Regions from separate parts of the Homo sapiens genome. Here regions 1 and 2 are each linked to region 3. The links are contacts of gene promoters, found by promoter capture Hi-C in human tissues and cell types (Jung and others, 2019). All regions are on one chromosome and are shown on one strand. Each heading gives the region's core, a stretch centred on a gene start or on the middle of the fragment in contact. The rest is flanking DNA. Distances are from core to core; before and after follow the strand shown. Region 1 has its middle 110 kb from the start of SS18. Region 2 has its middle 170 kb from the start of SS18. Region 3 holds the start of PSMA8 (proteasome 20S subunit alpha 8).

Region 1 (2,700 bases), core at 70-2,569, 160 kb before region 3:
ACTGGCTATGGTAACAAGAGGTTTTGTTGTTGTTGTTGTTGTTGATACAGAGTCTCACTCTGTCGCCCAGGCTGGAGTGCAGTGGTGCAATCTCGGCACACTGCAACCTCTGTCTTCCAGGTTCAAGCGCTTCTCGTGCCTCAGCCTCCTGAGTAGCTGAAATTGTAGGCACCTGCCACCACACCCAGCTGATTTTTGTATTTTTTAGTAGAGATGGGGTTTCGCCATGTTGGCCAGGCTGGTCTCGGACTCCTGACCTCAAGTGATGAGCCCACCTCAGCCTCTCAAAGTGCTGGGATTACAGGCATGAACCATCACACCTGGCCAGTTTGTGCATTTCTAACGAGCTCTCAGGTGTTGTGATGCTGCTGGGCTGAGGACCACACTTCCAGTGGTCTATCTGAAATTAGCAAGCAAGTCTCCAGAAAAGACCTAGAGGGAATAGAACACAGGGGATAAATCTGGTGACAATGATGCATGAGCTCTGGTCTCAGGAAGGCCAGCACTTGGGAGATTTCTATGGTGGGAGGCTCTGCAAATCCTCCAGGAAAGGCTTGAATATGGTTGCAAGCCACAGAAAAGGCAGGAAACCAAAACTTCCGTTTTGCTGGAAGCTGCCTGGGTTTACAAAAAATACACAACTGGGCTCAGAAAAGCAAACGGGTGAGTCTTCTAATGAACCATCTACATGCCTAGCACCCACACGGGGATCAACGAGAGCCTAGAGTCCTGGATTGTTTAATAAGACCCACTTACTAGTCTCCCTTGACTTTCAAGTTAACACCTCACCGAGGTGACTTCGCATGCACTGGAGTGGCACCTAGCTCCATGGTGGCAGGAACATTATCTGATTGGAGATGATCATCATAAAGGCTTTGGGACAGGAGCATTTGCTAAGTTGGTTTCAGTGAGACTTTCACAAAGCTCCTTAAGCAGTTTGCCTCATAGCAGGCAATATTCAGTCTTCCTCCCTCTGTGGCGTTATGCGGGGGCTTGGAGCTTCATTAGCCTCAGTTTAATTTTTACCAGATCCCTGCTGAGCATACACAAAAGCAATTTTTTTAATTGCCTATTTTTTTATATTTTGTGCTTTTCTTTCTTCTTCTTTTCTTTCATTCAAAAAAATTTATACAAATATTTTTGCATAAAAGAGATGAGTCATTGGTGAAGTTTGAAGTTTTGTTTGTAGGGTGTTTTTAAGGCATTAGGGTAAAGAATATTCTTCTCTTTTTAACACTATACAATTGACCAGCACTTTGGGAGGCCAAGGTGGGTGGATCACTTGAGGTCGGGAGTTTGAGATCAGCCTGGCCAACATGGTGAAACCCCATCTTCTCTACTGAAAATACAAAACTTAACCGGGCATGGTGGCGTGTGCCTGTAATCCCAGCTACTCGGGAGGCTGAGGCAGGAGAATTGCTTGATCCGGGGACATGGAGGTTGCAGTGAGCCGAGATTGCACCACTGTACTCCAGCCTGGGCAACAGAGGGAGACTCTGTCTCAAAACAAAACAAAACACTATACAATTCAGAAATATATACATATTTTTGTCAATAATGGGGCATATCTTTTGGTAACAAAATATAGAAAAAACAGCCCCAAAAATATTTTTTTCAAACACTGTCTTCTTGCATGTAAAATTATATTATTCATTACTTTGCTACATAAAGTATAAATTTAATTTCTGGAAATGATAGTTATATTTAATGCTCATCTTGCAAATATCTTTTATTAAAGATAAACATTAGGCCAGGCTCAGTGGCTCATGCCTGTAATCCCAGCACTTTGGGAGGCTGAGGTGGGTGGATCACGAGGTCAGGAGTTTGAGACCAGCCTGGCCAACATGGTGAAACCCTGTCTCTACAAAAACACAAAAATTAGTTCAGCGTGATGGTGCAGGCCTGTAATCCCAGCTACTGGGGAGGCTGAGGAAGGAGAATCTCTGGAACCCGGGAGGTGGAGTTTGCAGTGAGCCGAGATCGCGCCACTGCACTCCACCCTGGGTAACAGAGCAAGACTCTGTCTCAAAAATAAACAAAAAACCAAAAAACCACATACTATTTTCATTTCTATTTGTCAGTTACAAGCTTGAGACAAACCACAGATAACTTCATTTTTAATTTTCTGAGTTTGTTGACAGCACTTTTCCTTTCTAATCCTTTCTTGAAGATCCAGGATTGGGTAAAAGAGGGGTTTCAATTAGTCAGGAGTTGGCCTTCCTCTTCACAGAAAAAAAACAAATGTTTTGCTGGCATTTGGTACATTGCAGAGGGTTTTCTCTGGCTCTGATCTACAGTTGCTATGTTGAGGAGTCTTCCTGTTTCTATTATATCACTGAGAAGTTCATGTTATTTTAAAATGTCCCCTGCCACAGCCTCGATTCTCCCGAGGAGCATATTCCTTTCCATAGAATGGGCATTTTTCGAACTTAATATCTTACATTTGATTACCATTGGTGCATATTTAAATGTTGTCTTGCTCATCTTGTTTATTACATATATGTATTAAAAACTAATAAAAGCAAAATAATACAAAAAATGAGCATTTCATTTTGGCATCCTCCCTATTACAAAACCCTGCAGATGTTTGGCTGCCTGTGATATATTTTGGGGGGTGGAATTTGCAACTGCTATAATTAAGCAATACCATTAAGTCACCCGAGAGTAAATTAGAAGCTAAACTGGTGCTGTGTGCTCAGG
Region 2 (2,833 bases), core at 217-2,716, 220 kb before region 3:
AATCTGCCTTAGCCTGGAACTGAAAAGGACCCAATAATCCCACAGATAGTTTTTTGGATAAACATATAAATTGACCCTGCTGGTCTTAAAGCTTGAACCTTACATTTGTTGTATCTGTTTTTTCCTCAGGAAAGGACCTTCAAGCCTGTCAAAAAAAAGTATCAAAGACCTGAAACTCACCAGATCACGGCATCCAGACAATGAGATGCTGGACCCCTCCTTCATCATCATCCTTCCTTGCCCCTCCCTAGCTCTTGTTTTCATTTCCTCCCTCCTGTATGAAACCCTACTTTTAGTCGGTCAAGGAGAGGATTTGAGACTGATCTCCCATCTCCTTGGCTGCAGCACCAAATTAAAGCCTTCATCCTTGGCAATACTGATCATCTCAGTCATTGGCTTTCTGGGTGGTGAGCAGCAGGACCTAGACTGAACCCCTGGTGTCTCAGTAACAGAACCACAGGAGTGGCAGGAGGATCAGAAGTCCATATGGACAGCAACGCTGACTGTCCGGAAGCAGGATAAACACCCTGCTAAATGTGAACCTATTCCATACATTTACATGTCCTCTATGTACAGAACAATATGTCCTGACTATAACTACATTAAGTCATAGTAGTTATAGTCAGGACATATTTTCTCAGTCAAAAGATATTAAAAGTTTAATATGTGAGGGCAGTGGGGAGATTGGCAAATTTTTTTAGCATTGAAAAAGGGCCCACAGAAGGTAAAAATCACAACTTCAGACTCTTTCTTGGCCGACTTCCACTCAAAATTCACCATTCCTGATTTCCATTCCTTCAGGGGCCTGATCTCTGCTTTAAAATGATAGTAAGCTAATATGATAATATAATATGTATTAATAATTTAATGCTTACCCTTCCTAGGTAATATATGTGCATTTTTAACTGAGCTGTTTTAGACAACACACTTTAATCCAAAGCAAACTTTCTAACCCACGTTTCTCTAGTGATGACCTGTCACCTGAGTCCCAGACCTATATATTCTCAGCTTACTAAACATTTCCATTCAAACCTGCCAGAGGAATTGAAACTCAATATGTCCAAAATTGATCCTCCACTTCTATCCTTCACCTCAGTCAGTGACATCACCAATCATTCACTTAAAGCCAGAGACCTGGGAGTTATTCTAGGTTCTTCACAACCCCACCCCAGCCAAGAGCTGATCCAATCTGTCTAACTCAGCATCTCCCAAATGGTGTTTTATGAGCATCGTGTCAATAGGCAAAATACTTTCCCTGATCAAACAAGTTTGGAAAACATTGGTTAGACAAAGTTAAACCTTTTTTATAGAACTAAGGGTTTCTAATATGTTGCCCTGAATTACAAATATCCAAAAAAGAAAATATACCACCTAATGTTCCAAACTCATTTGCCCAGGGAACTCTTATTTTCTTTGCAGAGTATATTGCAGGATCTATGTATTACAGAACATACTTTGAGAAATGCCATGATCAGATATTTTTGAACCGTGTTTTATTATCACGCATTGTCTCATGCAATTTCTGTGTTGTAGATAAGTAGTGTTGTAACAGTGTACATATAAGAAACTGAAAGTCTCAGGCATTACACGACTTGAAAGCCAGAAATGTGAATGAAAATATTTTGTTACAAATATTTATTGAGAAATCCCAGTCAAAATATCACTGGGATTTGGGGGCACTTCATGAAGTGTGCTTATGCTTAAGAGTAAGAGAAAGTCCAAAAGAATCCTAAACAAACAGCTGGCAGGAGCGATGGCTGGAATGTGCTGTTAAGGGTGGGGTTTTGGGAAGGTGGTTCGAGGCTTATTTTCCACTGGTTTGTATTGTTTGAATTTGTTATAGCAAGCTTATGTTATGTTTATAATTTATTTTCTTAAAACATCAATACAGAAAAAAAAATAATAAACAAATCAAATGCCTGGCTGGTGATAGTACTGTTTTAAAAATCCATCTGAAAGAACGAAAATGAAAGAAGAGCCAGACATTCTTGGAAAGTGTAAGAACTTGTGCTACCAATTATTACAATGTACTTAGAGCTGTAGTCATTTTTTTTTTCCTGAGATGGATTCTCGTTCTGTTGCCCAGGCTGGAGTGCAATGGCGCAATCTCAGCTCACTGCACCCTCCAACTCCCAGGTTCAAGGGATTCTCCTGCCTTAGCCTCCCGAGTAGGTGGGATTAGAGGTGCCTGCCACCACACCCAGCTAATTTTTGTATTTTTTCTAGAGACAGGGTTTCGCTCTGTTGGCCAGGCTGGTCTCAAACTCCTGACCTCAGGTGATCCGCCTGCCTCAGCCTCCCAAAATCCTGGGATTACAGGCGGGAGCCACCATGCCCGGCCAAGCTGTAGTCATTCTTAAAGTGAGCTAGTGGCACAGGTATATAGACCAACAGATGAGTTAATCCAATAGAAACTCCACAAATAGAGGCAAGGAGATATTGGCACCACACTCTAACCAATTGAGCTAACAGGCCATCGTGTGAGGCAAGCAGACATAAAAATTTAGTAGACGATTAAGGTGGCATTTTAAAGCAGTGGTGAAAGGAAAACTCAATTTTACTAAATTTTACTAAAACGATAGGGTAGCTATGTCCCAAATAAATAAGCTTGAATTCCTAACTTATTTATTATACTAAAATAAATTCCACATAAATCAGACTTAAAAATTATTATGAAGCCTTGAAAATAATAAAAGAAAACATAGGTAACTATTTTTATAATTCCAGTTTTGAAGGAAGCCTCTTTAAATGTATACAAAAGCCAGAAATGATCAAATCAAAGACTGTACATTGTACAACACAAAAATTCTCTAAAACAAAAAAGATCACTGCA
Region 3 (2,764 bases), core at 203-2,702:
CTGTAATCGCAGTACTTTCGGATGCCAAGGCAGGAGGATTGCTTGAGACCAGGAGTTTGAGACCAGCCTGGGCAACATAGGGAAACCAAGTCCCTACGTTAAAAAAAAAAGTATTAATAATTAAATAAATTGTTTAAGTCAATTAAAATTCTGATTTAAGTATTTGGAATTCAGGGAATCAAATTTTTCCTCTTTTGAGGAAATTATTCTTTTTTTCTTTTTTTTGGTTAAAGTTGATTTCACCAACTTTAAGATCCTCCCCAGTGGAAAACTGCATATATTAAACAACACATGGAAAGCAATAATAGCTAAACTTACCTGGCTATTACTGCCCACCAGGCACCATTTTATGTAATTATGCCCATAAACACATATTAAGCTCAGAATACTCTGCTGCAGATTTTTTAATATTCCCATTTTATTGATAAGGAGAAAGCGACAGAGTTGTTTCATAGTTAGTAATGTAGCAAGTTGTAAAGAGTTTCTGCTATAGCTAAATTTCCAGACATCTTTTAAGTCTCATACTTTGGGCTTTTACAAAATTTCTCCAATTAAAAGAATATTATCTGGGCCGGGCGCGGTGGCTCACGCCTGTAATCCCAGCACTTTGGGAGGCCGAGGCAGGCGGATCACGAGGTCAGGAGATCAAGACCATCCTGGCTAACACGGTGAAACCCAGTCTCTACTAAAAATATAAAAAATTAGCCGGGCGTGGTGGCGGGCGCCTGTAGTCCCAGCTGCTCCGGAGGCTGAGGCAGGAGAATGGCGTGAACCCGGGAGGTGGAGCTTGCAGTGAGCCGAGATTGCACCACTGCACTCCAGCCTGGGCGACAGAGCGAGACTCCGTCTCAAAAAACAAAAAACAAAACAAAACAAAAAAAAGAACATTATCTTAATTCTCATCATTAGCTTAGTTTGATGGACTATTTGCTTTATTTAACGGACCATTTGCTCATCTGCTCTATTTTGCTCACAAGGCAGAAAATATCAGAAGCAACAATATTTTGAAGTTTGCTTTCTTTCCTTCGGTTCAAATAACAAGAGTTAACCTGAGAGAGAGAAAGAAAAAGTAGGAAATTTAGAATTTGAAACCAAAGGGAAGGGACTGATATTTAACTTACCACAGTTTCTCCAACATGTATGCGATAACAAAAATATCTGATATTTGAAGACCTCATTTTTAAGCCCTAATCTTTGATATTATTTTTATAACTCGAGTGCCGTGACACCATCCCTGGGGCAACACGGTAGTGGGGAAATGGAGATATGCGCTATGCGTCAGACATGAAGGGTAAGGGAAGAATGCCGTCAACTCACAGGCACTGCTTGGGTGACAAAGGCTGGCAAGCGCGAGGACATCCGCAGGCAGCCAAAGGAGCAAGGACTTCCGTGAAGCAGCCGAAGCGCGGGCGCGGGGACTTCCGGGAGGCAGCTTGAGGCGCGTGTGGAAGCGCTTCCGGGCGGTAGCACGCTGTGTTGGCGGCGGCTCCCCGCTTGCCTCAGCTGCAGCAGCGGGAAGCTCGGTGGCAAGCCCTTGTAGTCCTGTGCGATGGCGTCTCGATATGACAGGGCGATCACTGTCTTCTCCCCAGACGGACACCTTTTTCAAGTTGAATATGCCCAGGAAGCGGTGAAGAAAGGATCCACCGCGGTGAGGAAGCAACTATTACCGGACTATTCCCCGCTCTGACCTGTCAGGCCATCGTTACCCTGCTGCCCCAGCCCACCTTTCCATCCTAGGAGCTCAAGAGAGGAGATTCCCACACTTGTGAAAATTACTTTGTTCTTTTTATTTAGGGAGACAGACTTCTAGATTTGGGCCGGAAGTGGGCAGAGTAAAAGTTAGTAGATTTCCCCTATCTCTGCTGTTCAACTGCCTCTGTTTCATGGTAGCTACAGACGCAAAACTAGGGTGTGTGTGTGGGTGTGTGTGTGTGTGTGTGTGTGTCTCTGTGTGTGTGTGTGTGTGTGTAGGGACGTTAATGATGTGATTGACAATAGGGAAAGCTTCTAATCTGTAACAGCCTACCTATTGAACGCTCGTGGTCCAGTTCCTTGGTAGTTCAGAGACCCCTGGAAAAGTTAACAGTTGCTTCATGTTGGGAACTGTTTTTTAATAACAGTTACAATAAAAAATAAAAGTTGGCCACACCTGCTCCCCAAATACGGACTAAATCAATATAAAATTAAACTTTTGTTGATGAAGAAATGATTAAAAACACAGTTCAAACACACGCGTTAAAAATATCCCAAAATTGCTGGGCGCAGTGGCTCACACCTGTAATCCCAGCACTTTGGAAGGCCCAGGAGGGCGGATCACCTGAGGTCGGGAGTTTGAGACCAGCCTGACCAACATGGAGAAACTCCGTCTCTACTAAAAATACAAAATTAGCCAGGCGTGGTGGCGCATGCCTGTAATCCCAGCTACTCGGGAGGCTGAGGCGGGAGAATCGCTTGAACCTGGGAGGCAGAGGTTGCGGTGAGCCGAGATCGTGCCATTGCACTCCAGCCTGGGCAACAAAAGCGAAACTCCGTCTCGGGAAAAAAAAAAAAAATCCCAAAATTGTCCCAATATTTCCCAGCCTTGTAGAGGCTCAAAAGTCCAAGAACTTCCACTTTTTTGGCCACTTAAAAAATAATGCTGGAAGTTCCTTGAGAGATTACACCCTACCTTAGATTTATGTATCCACATTACTGAAAAACTTAAAAAATACTCAGGGTAGGAGTAATACTGCTGCCAAGTTTTAACTACGTTCAATAATTT

Evidence for each region. The method cuts DNA at HindIII sites, captures the fragments that hold promoters and counts their contacts. A contact is called where the count stands out against the background at its distance.
Region 1: a contact is called between a fragment that was not itself captured here and the fragment with the promoter of PSMA8 in region 3, in 2 of the 25 tissues and cell types used here (hippocampus and spleen).
Region 2: a contact is called between a fragment that was not itself captured here and the fragment with the promoter of PSMA8 in region 3, in 3 of the 25 tissues and cell types used here (IMR-90 fibroblasts, hippocampus and pancreas).

Annotation. Positions count from the first base shown.
Region 1 is chr18:25,976,884-25,979,583 of GRCh38, forward strand. No RefSeq gene overlaps it. Among named protein-coding and RNA genes, the nearest start is that of SS18, 110 kb to the right of the region's middle. The HindIII fragment of the contact is 4,033 bases long and covers 1-2,700 here.
Region 2 is chr18:25,916,546-25,919,378 of GRCh38, forward strand. No RefSeq gene overlaps it. Among named protein-coding and RNA genes, the nearest start is that of SS18, 170 kb to the right of the region's middle. The HindIII fragment of the contact is 3,722 bases long and covers 1-2,833 here.
Region 3 is chr18:26,132,417-26,135,180 of GRCh38, forward strand. PSMA8 (proteasome 20S subunit alpha 8) reads left to right here and starts at 1,453. Exons shown (of 7, transcript NM_001025096.2): 1 at 1,453-1,651. The coding sequence starts at 1,550. The HindIII fragment of the contact is 10,391 bases long and covers 1-2,764 here.